Linked DNA regions of Homo sapiens: all the other regions are linked to region 1. Evidence: promoter capture Hi-C in human tissues and cell types (Jung and others, 2019). All regions are on one chromosome and are shown on one strand. Each heading gives the region's core, a stretch centred on a gene start or on the middle of the fragment in contact. The rest is flanking DNA. Distances are from core to core; before and after follow the strand shown. Region 1 holds the start of GNL2 (G protein nucleolar 2). Region 2 has its middle 38 kb from the start of CSF3R. Region 3 has its middle 32 kb from the start of RRAGC.

Region 1 (3,465 bases), core at 896-3,395:
CGCCGGATGGTGGCCCGGTCCCTCATGTTTTGGCCTCCTGCTCCCTGCACTCGATCTACAAAAGGCAGAAGTACACAGTGCACTATTTGATAACCAACCAGTATAACCAACAAGTCATTGCTTAAAATGCAACAAGTAGTTCACCCAAATTAGGTAAGAAGCCACCAACCACAAAAATCTCTACTTTCTCCATATGTTGCTCCAATAATTAGTACTTGAAGCTACATGGTATGACAAAGCTGACCCAATCTTTGATCTTCGATAGGATTGTATTTGAGAAGAATAGCTAATATTTTTGAGCACTTATGATGGCACTGTGTTATCCAAATTATAGGCATCATCTGATTTAATCTATACAATAATCCTATAGATATATTATCCCCATGCTGCGGAGTGAGAAACTGAGGCACAGTGGTCAGACACCTTGCCCAAGGTCAAACCGTTACTAAATGGCAGAGCCAGAATTTGTACATGAGCATTTGATCACCATCTATGGTCTTAACCACGAAGATACCTACCTCTGTGTCTCAGTTTAACAAATATTGAGTGCCTGCTCCATGCAAGGCACCATGGAGACTATAATTTTGATATATGTGTTCTTACTTTCTTAATGTTTGATTTTTGTTTAATCAACACAGCAATTCTTGCCTTACATCTCAAAGAGAAAGAGAAGGACAAACGAATAGGGTAATACTAGCCTAGCTTCTCATTTTGGGAGCCCTTTATTTACCTATTTATTCATTTATTCATTATTATTATCTTTTTTTTGAGACAGAGTCGTGCTCTGTCACCCAGGCTGGAGTGCAGTGTCGCGATCTCAGCTCACTACAACCTCCACCTCCCCGGTTCATGCAATTCTTCCACCTCAGCCTCCCGAGTAGCTGGGATTACGGGCATCCGCCATCATGCCCGGCTAATCTTTGTATTTTTGTAGAGAGGGGGTTTCATCATGTTGGTCAGGCTGGTCTTGAACTCCTGACCTCGGGTGATCCGACCGCCTCGGCCTCCCAAAGTGCTGGGATTACAGGCGTGAGCCACCACACCTGGCCAGGAGCCCCTTAAATCACCTGTCTGGTCCTGAAGTGATACAGTAGAAGACAGGCTGAAACCACAGCCCATTGGCTCTCCTAACAGTCTCTAACAGTAGAAACTGGCGGCTCTACTACTACTCACTAACTGTTGCAATTATGACAGGCCACTTCCTGTATTTTGATTCAGTCTCTTCACCTGTAAAATCATAATCTCTAAGGGCCTTTTGGGGTCTAACATTCTGAGATTCCAGTTTGTGCAAAGTGAATAATTTATTATCAATCCGGAATAAACATTCAACTTGCATTAAAATTGTCAAAAATTCTAAACCATATTTTAAAACAAAGTTTTATTAATTAAACCTGAATGGAAGGAACTCTCCCATAGGATGTCTTGTTAATCGTACAGGTGGAACCTCGCCAAAACTTACACACATCTCCTAAACAGCCTTACTGCAATGATCATACTGACTTCTTTGTAGGGTTCTCTAAGCACTTTACCAGATAGAATAATTCCAAGGGCCAAAACTATAAGCCCTTTCTCATTTTAAAGGTCAAAGCTAAGGTGGCAGGCAAGTATGATCACGTGTAAAAGGCCCGAAGGGTCAACCTACACCATTTTTAATCTGACTTTCTCTGCATCTCTCAACTGGAGAGGACCCAAGGCTGTCAGCCTGAGTGTTCACTTTCCTTGACTTCAGACCAGTTGACTACACTTTGGCCTGCCAGGCGTGCACTGAGCCCTCCTCAGTTCCCCCCTGAGAAGAAACCACCACAAATATTGCTTTCCTTTTTCCCTTTTCATCCCCAACAGCCACCCCGCTCGTAGTCATTCTAAGCAATGCCACTCGAGTAACCCTCCTTCCCCTCCAGTGCTCCTCGGAGCCCTTCCCTATACTTCCTCCAAGCTCCACCCTCGATCAGCCCTGCCGCCTGTACCTGGGTTTGTGCTGGCCTTGGACGGGTTGATGGTGCTCCGTCCTTTGTACTTGGGCTTCACCATCTTGGCGACGAGACCGGGACCGGAGTGCGAGGTCCGGCTTACGTGGTGAAACAAACTTTTATGTTCCCAAGCCCGGCCGAAGACACCCGCCTGAACCACGCCGGACCACGTGTGCACGACGTACGTCACTTCCGCTCGCGTCCCTCTCGGCCTCAGAGCGACTTCCTGTGAACGCGCGGCGCGCGCCGTCACCCTCCTGGCTCCGCCCCCGCTCCAGCCGCCTAGGCGTCGCCCTGCGTGGAGCCCCAGCCCGCTCCAGCCCTAGCAACCGCCAAGCTGCCCGTTCATAGCAACCGCCTAGTTAACCTGAACGCGCGGCCAGAGCTCCCAGTTGGGTCCACCTCCGAATAAAGAAGCTTCTTCCCAGGCCAGTGGCACAAGCTTAAGTTTGTCTTCTGAATTTGTCTTCTAAGTCCTTCCAAAAGTTGCCGACCACACAGCAGCCAAATATCCGTTAGGAGGTGTCATTCTCTTCCTTACAACTCCAGTGGCTTATCATCACTCTTAGAATGAGAGGTAGGGGAAGGGAGAAGGGAGAAACAGACAGAGACAGAGATTGATTCAAACTTTTTGCCATCCCTACAGGATTCTGTGATCTGGCCCCTGCCTGCCTATTTATCTAATCTCATGTGTACGTCCCTCCCTCTGGTTATTCTGACATTTACACTGGATATTCTCTCTGCCTGAATCACTCTTTCCCAGAATCTTTGCATAGCTGTCATTCAATCCTAAGCTCAAATATCACCTATTGGTAGGCCTGCAAGAATTAGCAAATAGAAATACAGGACACCAAATTAAATTAGAATTTCAGAGAAAAAAAATGAATACTTTTCTTTAGTACACCTCCAACAGTGCCTGGAAAATACTTAGACTAAAAAAGTATTCATCGTTTGCCTGAAATTCAAATGTAACTGTACGTTCTGTATTTTATCTGGTGACCCTTCCTGCTGTGAGAACTCATTCCTGTCTAATTTGTCTAAATCAGCCACCTTTCACCCTTTCACAGTTATTCTGTTACAGTATTCTGTTTTATTTATTTCATGGCATTTATCACTAGTTGAATTTTTTTTACAAGTTTATTGGCTGCTTCCCCCAAACTAGAATGTAAGATTCTTAAAAGCAGGGACCTTGTTAATTTGTTCACTGCTGTGTCTTTAAGACTTGAATAGCATCTGAAACAAAGGACTCAAAAAATATTCATTAAGTGAAAGAATGAGTAGATGGGAATGTCTCTTGCCTTGAGGATGAAGGAAGGCATTAAGACCCAGTGATTTCTGTTTCTACTAGCCAGAATAAAGTGTCTAGATGCCAGTGTTTGAACCAAGAAGCCCTCTCTCTTTTTACAATTTATTTTTTGTTTGTTTGTTTTTGTTTTTGTTTTTTGAGACGGAGTCTCGCTCTTGTTGCCCAGGCTGGAGTGCAGTGGCCCGGTCT
Region 2 (3,473 bases), core at 900-3,399, 1.1 Mb before region 1:
GTGTGTGTGTGTGTGTGTGTGTGTGTGTGTGTGTGTGCGCGCGCGCTCACGTGCAGGGGCTGCTGGGGAGGAGAAGAGAGGTCTCAACTTCCTTCCCTGGGGATATGAGCATTTTCTGGATACTTCTGGAATCTCCAGATTGTTCCCTGTAGGAGAAATAGCCACTTCAGCCATAATAGCCAGGGTGTACCGAGGCTTTACTATGTACCAGATACTCTTCCAAGTACTTCCCATGTCTTCTAAGGACTTTTCATCTCTTTTATTCCTCACACAAACCCTGTATTTAGGTACCATCTTCTCCTTGTAGCTGAAGAAGCTTAGGTACAGAAAGCTTCAGAAACATGCCCAAGTTCACATAGCTGGGAAATTTCAACCATTCAAATCCAAGTAGTTGAATTCCAGAGTTCAGTTCTCAACCACGACTCTATAAAGCTTTTCTTCACTGGAAAGAGAAAAGGAAGAAGGCAGGGAGAGGGCGAGAATGTGCACATAGGAAGATGTGAACACGTCTAATGCGTGTCCCTGGGCTGGACTGTGTGTGGTACACAGCTGCAAGTGTCCTGCGTGTACTTGGCTGTAGTTTCATGTATCCACACCTTCATTACCCACCTACCCACTCATGTTCATCCATCTGTCGGCCCGTCCATCCATCATCTGTTTTTTTTTTTTGAAATAGGGTCTCACTCTGTCTCCCAAGCTGGAGTGCAGTGGTGCAGTCTTGGCTATCTGCAACCTCTGCCTCCCAGGTTCAAGCGATTCTCCTGCCTCAGTCTCCCGAGTAGCTGGGACTATAGGCGTGCATCCCCACACCCGGCTAATTTTTGTACTTTTAGTAGAGACGGTGTTTCACCATATTGGCCAGGCTGTTCACGAACTCCTGACCTCATGTGATTCGCCCGCCTCGGCCCCCTGAAGTGCTGGGATTACAGGCGTGAGCCACTGTGCCCCAGCCCATCATCAGTTTTTAAGTGTGGGGTCACAGGTGTGTGGCTACTTCCAGGTGTGTCTGTGCACATGCATGCATAATTGGAATGTGTGTGATGGGTGTCAGGACATATTCAGATGTACAGACCTGTGACCGCCTCCCACCCCCTCTCCCAAGGCTCTTCCCCCAAACCTGAAAAGCCACAGGATGGAGGAAGAGGCCCAGCCTCAGCAGGCCTGCCTTGGTCCCTGGCTCCCCTCCGAGCCCCAGCGGAGAGTTAATTAAATCCCTTTCCCAACAAGGGTGGTAATTAGTGCTAATGGTTCGGCTTCCACTCAGAGGCTGGAGAGGTTCCTGCTCCGTGTCTGTGTGTGTATGTGTGTTAGGGGGTGGGTAGCAGGGCCTTCTCAGTTCCAGAAACTTATGGGGTGTGGAGAGGGGCTTCTGAGAACTCCCCAGTCTTTTCCTGCTCCTGTCTCCTGATCTTACGGGCTCCAGGAGGCTGGGAGTGTGGTGGGTCTCCCGCCAGCCTGCCTGGGAAGAACCTGGTTGTGGTGCCCTTAGCTTGAGGCCTGTGGCTCTCTAGGAATCTGTTTGTGACTGAGGGTGTGCTTCTGTGTGTGTGTGTGTTTGTGTCTGTGCGCGTGCACAAGGGACACTCTGAACCATGCTGTGTGCATATAAATGACCATATATATAACAGTGATATATGAATGGTGCCCCCTGGAATTGTGCAATGTGGTAGCCCTGATTCACAGACCCCAAGTTGGCATGTCCATGATGTGTGCAATGACTCTGTGTTTCTGGGTGTCCTCTGTGTGTTTCGAGGTGTACCTGAAGGTGGGTGCCAGTGAGTGTGGGCCTATGTGTGTTTACATGTGACAAAATGCAAGGAGCAGCAGGGCCGCTGGCTTCTGGGGCCTGACTGACACCCCTTGCAAATAAATGTGACAATGAAATACAGTCCTGGAATTGCTTTGGATGCTCCGTCAAGCAGGCGACGCAGAATAGGTGAAGCTGTAAAGTGTTCCCTGGGGAGCTGTGTGGCTGAGTGACAGCCCCGTGCTGGCTCCTGCCTCTCTGCCTGGCTCTCCCTTGTGAGACCCTGGGGCTGAAGACACTCATCCTGACCACAGCCTGGAAGACTCGGGAGAACCGGCTTCCACAGCCTGTGAGGAGTGAAGGGCAGAGGGGACCTGGCAGGGCTCCATCCCTTCACCATTGTCTCATCGCTCTCTTCAGGTGGAGTGCCCAGAGTAGGGCTGTGTCCCATCCCCGTCATATGCACTCAGACTGGGCTCTCTCAGGACAGGGTCCTGTCTCCCCCCTCAGACTGGGCTGTCTCAGGACAGGGCCCTGTCTCCTCCCTCAGACTGGGATCTCTCAGGAAAGGGCCCTGTCTCCCCTCTCAGACTGGACTCTCTCAGGAAAGGGCCCTGTCTCCCCCCTCAGACTGGGCTGTCTCAGGACAGGGCCCTGTCTCCTCCCTCAGACTGGGATCTCTCAGGAAAGGGCCCTGTCTCCCCTCTCAGACTGGACTCTCTCAGGAAAGGGCCCTGTCTCCCTCCTCAGACTGGGCTCTCTCAGGACAGGGCCCTGTCTCCTCCCTCAGACTGGGCTCTCTTAGGAAAGGGCCCTGTCTCCCCTCTCAGACTGGGCTCTCTCAGGACAGGGCCATGTCTCCTCCCTCAGACTGGGCTCTCTCAGGACAGGGACCTGTCTCCCTTCTCAGACTGGGCTCTCTCAGGACGGGGTCCTGTCTCCCCCCTCAGACCCGGCTCTCTCAGGACAGGGTCCTGTCTCCTCCCTCAGACTGGGCTCTCTCAGGACAGGGTCCTGTCTTCCCCCTCAGACTGGGCTCTCTCAGGACAGGGTCCTGTCTCCTCCCTCAGACTGGGCTCTCTCACGACAGGGTCCTGTCTCCTCCCTCAGACTGGGCTCTCTCAGGACAGGGCCCTGTCTCCCCCCTCAGACTGGGCTTTCTCAGGACAGGGCCCTGTCTCCCCCCTCAGACTGGGTCTCCAGAGGGCAGAGTTCTGCCTTCCTCTCCGGGGCTCCCTTGAGTGGGGATGTTTCTCCTAAGATTGGGAGACCGCTCAAGAGAGGGCCGAGTCTCCCTGTGAGGCCCGAGCCCCTGAGCACCCTCCGCTTGGTTTATGCGTGTATCGCACACTCATGCATGCATATCTGGCTGCAGATTTGGAGGTTGCAGAGCTGTCTGCATGAGCCTTAGCTCTGGAGACCTGGGTTCAAATCCCACACCTGCTAACTTCATTAGCCATGATCTCAGGGAGGTAGTAACAGCTTCCACAAAGTCAGGGCACTGCTTAGGGCTCTGGTTAGGGGCTGACAGGACACTTTTTTCTTTTTTTTTCAATCACAAAAGTGCCTTCTGCTCGTTAAGCCATGTGCCCTCCCAGGTGGCACCTCATTCTAATAGTTAGGCCAGGGGTGCCTTGTTAAATTCTCCCCAAATAGCAGGGCAGGCTACCATGGCCCTGCACAGAGGGTGTGGCGTGCCGTGGAAAGTGCTTGCTCAGTGCCCGGC
Region 3 (3,099 bases), core at 336-2,835, 1.2 Mb after region 1:
AATACTGTCATAACTATGTTGAAAAATTAAATTATTGTAACTTTATTTACATTTCTTAAAAGTACTGTGAAAATTATTCTTAACCAGGACCTAATCAATGTTAGAGTCTAAAAATATGCCACTCTGCATGAAGCTATAAAAAGATTAATGTACATTTTTTACAAGAAATTAGTAGCTTAATGAAGTGGATAAAAACGCTGTCACAATTTTTATTGGATCTAAATTGCATAGTAGTGGAGGTACAGTAAGTGCCTTCTACATAATGACATAATGAGTCATGACTGGTGCTGGAAGGCTAATTTGCCCTTAACTGACACAAAACCAGGGAATTAACATCCCAGTCGCTCTACGCCAATAGCAGATGCATTATTTCATTGCACAGCAGGGTTTTTAACTAAACTCTTAACTGTAGAAATATTGATCTATTCTTCTGTGAAATGATGAAATTGGAATTTTTTAAAAGGACTTCTTAAATTATGGCTGCTGCAGTGACATTTGCTTTCACAGAACCATGCCTGCCTCCAGAGCAGATGCAACAGGAGAAGTGAGGTTAGGCTCATACCTGTGTTTTAGGGTCTGCAGTCAGAGGAGAAAGAAAGAGGGGACTTTATATGAGAGTAAATGCTCGCATTAAGCCACTGTGAGGAAGTGACAGACCATCTACAGGTGCCCAATTTCTGCAGTGACAGTGGTTGAACATTGTCCCAGCCCATAAACTGGTTTACTTTGAAGATTATTTCATACTTGGAAGTTGTTTTGAATAGAGCATCACCAAAACAGTGATATTCAATCTAAGTCTCAAATAAAATTTTAGTGGTGAAAGGTAGAATGGAAAGTAGTTGAAGTAGCTAGAGACCCCTATAAGAGGCAAGTATAAAGTGAGAGATGCTGTCCTGTCCCAATTTCCATTTTGTCATTCATTCATTCATTCATTCATTCCTCTATTTATTGGGTACCTACAGAGTGCCAGGGATGGTTAAATACTATAACCTATGGTGACTAATTATTGCTTCTGTCAGATAGTGTAATGCAACATATTTCTCTGTTTAACCAATGAATCAAAATTCATTTGGCTTTGAAATTTTAACAATAACTAAATTTAAATTTGTACTAACCACAGATACTTTGAGCTGTCACAACCCAGGAATTTAGAAGAAAGAAGAACAATGTACTGACAAACAGCTATACATCTGCCACCTCTTCACCTCTTGTGTGTCTCTCTTTGACACTTTGGGTTAGCACACACACACACAAAAAGCAGCAGCAAAAATAATTCTTCGTGCTTGAGGAGCTGAGAAACCAAACCTATTTAAGTCAATTGAACAAGCCTGCAATATGTCACATGACCTAGGCGTAGGCACACAGAGTAGCTAGAGGTAGTTTGATCCAGCCTAGAAGCTGGTGGTTCTCAACACTAACTGACATTAAGCCACATGGGAACAGCCTTATTTACTTATAATCATGCACCACATAATGACAATTTGCTCAACCATGGACCACACATACTACAGTGGTACCATATGATTTTATTTTTACTGTACCTTTTCTATGTTTAGATACGCAAATACTTAACCATTGTGTTGTAATTGCCTACAGTATTCAGTAAGTAACATGCTGTACAGGTTTGTAGCCTAGGAGCAATAGGCTACCCCCTATAGCCTAGGTATGTAGGAAGCTGTACCATTTCGGTTTGTGCAAGCACATCCTGTGATGTTCACACAGTGCTGAAATTGCCTAACATCACATTTCTCCGAATGTATCCCTGTCACTAAGCGGCACATGGCTATAGTTTGGGATGGGCCTGGTATCACTATTTTTTTTTATACTCACCCCAAGTGGTTCTAGTGTGCAACTATGGTTAAGAACCACTATAGACACGTAATAAAACAACAACAGAAACTGCACAGACCACGCTCAGAGGACTGGAAGAGCTGATCAGGCTCTGACGGAGAGCTGCAGCCAGGCCAGGTGAGAGTGCACAAGATGGCACTTGGATACTTTGCAGACTGCAGTCAATAAACTCGGGTCCCTGCTCTCAGTCTAAGACCATTTTCTACGACATATTAAAACCAATAAACACCTCCTCCTCCTATCCCCTTCAATTTTTAAAGGATTTTTAAAAATGCATATATGTATATTGTTAATTATAAAAAGGATACATATTCATTCACTGTAGAAAAATTGGAAAACACTGTTAATATGGTTTTAAAAAAGTAATGAGATGTTTCGAATCTATATTATTTTAAAGTACAAGAATCAATCTATTTAAGAACATCCTAAAATTGATGGCTAAAACATGTATGAAAGATCCCGTTCTTGTATTCTTATCAACATTGAATATCATCCTTTGAAAAAAATACCCATTTGATAAAGAGAAAGGGAAGCTTATTATTTTAGTGTTCATTTCTTCTATTATTAGTGAGGTTTTATGGGTTTTCATGGTTTTGGCCTCTTCTACTTCGTGTCACACACTAATATCTTTCCCTCATTTTGTTTTAGAATGTATTTTTTACTGATTTGTAAAATTGTATAAAAAATATTAACTTTCAGGCTGGGCGCAGTGGCTCATGCCTGTAATCCCAGCACTTTGGGAGGCCAAGGTGGGTGGATCATGAGGTCAGGAGTTTGAGACCAGCCTGGCCAGCATGGTGAAACCCCGTCTCTACTAAAAATACAAAAAATTAGCCAGGCATGGTGGCGGGTGCCTGTAATCCCAGCTACTTGGGAGGCTGAGGCAAAAAAATCACTTGAACCCGGGAGGTGGAGGTTGCAGTGAGCTGAGATCGTGCCATTGCACTCTAGCCTGGGCAATGAGAGTGAAACTCCATCTCAAAAAAAAAAAATTAACTTTCTCTATTATACATAATAAGCATATTTCCTAGTTTCTCTTGTTTAATTTAATAGTACGTTTTGACATAAACAATCTGTTCATTCTAGGTGTGTAAAGTCACACACACACCAGAATTTGTTGTTAAATCACCTCTAATGTTTATCCTCCTTATTCTCTTGATGTGTTGATATGTGTAGGGCTTGGAGTCAGAAGGTCAGCACTCATTGGCTTACCAGCTGCGTGATTTAGGGCAAGCCACTTCACTTCTC

What was found. The method cuts DNA at HindIII sites, captures the fragments that hold promoters and counts their contacts. A contact is called where the count stands out against the background at its distance.
Region 2: a contact is called between a fragment that was not itself captured here and the fragment with the promoter of GNL2 in region 1, in 1 of the 25 tissues and cell types used here (heart left ventricle).
Region 3: a fragment that was not itself captured here is called in contact with the fragment with the promoter of GNL2 in region 1 in 1 of the 25 tissues and cell types used here (liver).

The regions. Positions count from the first base shown.
Region 1 is chr1:37,593,792-37,597,256 of GRCh38, forward strand. It overlaps GNL2 (G protein nucleolar 2), which reads right to left and starts at 2,146. Exons shown (of 16, transcript NM_013285.3): 1 at 1,968-2,146; 2 at 1-55. The coding sequence starts at 2,031. RefSeq lists enhancers at 1,645-1,704, 1,875-2,064. The HindIII fragment of the contact is 8,299 bases long and covers 1-3,195 here.
Region 2 is chr1:36,519,215-36,522,687 of GRCh38, forward strand. No RefSeq gene overlaps it. Among named protein-coding and RNA genes, the nearest start is that of CSF3R, 38 kb to the left of the region's middle. The HindIII fragment of the contact is 7,915 bases long and covers 1-3,473 here.
Region 3 is chr1:38,826,179-38,829,277 of GRCh38, forward strand. No RefSeq gene overlaps it. Among named protein-coding and RNA genes, the nearest start is that of RRAGC, 32 kb to the right of the region's middle. The HindIII fragment of the contact is 5,006 bases long and covers 1-3,099 here.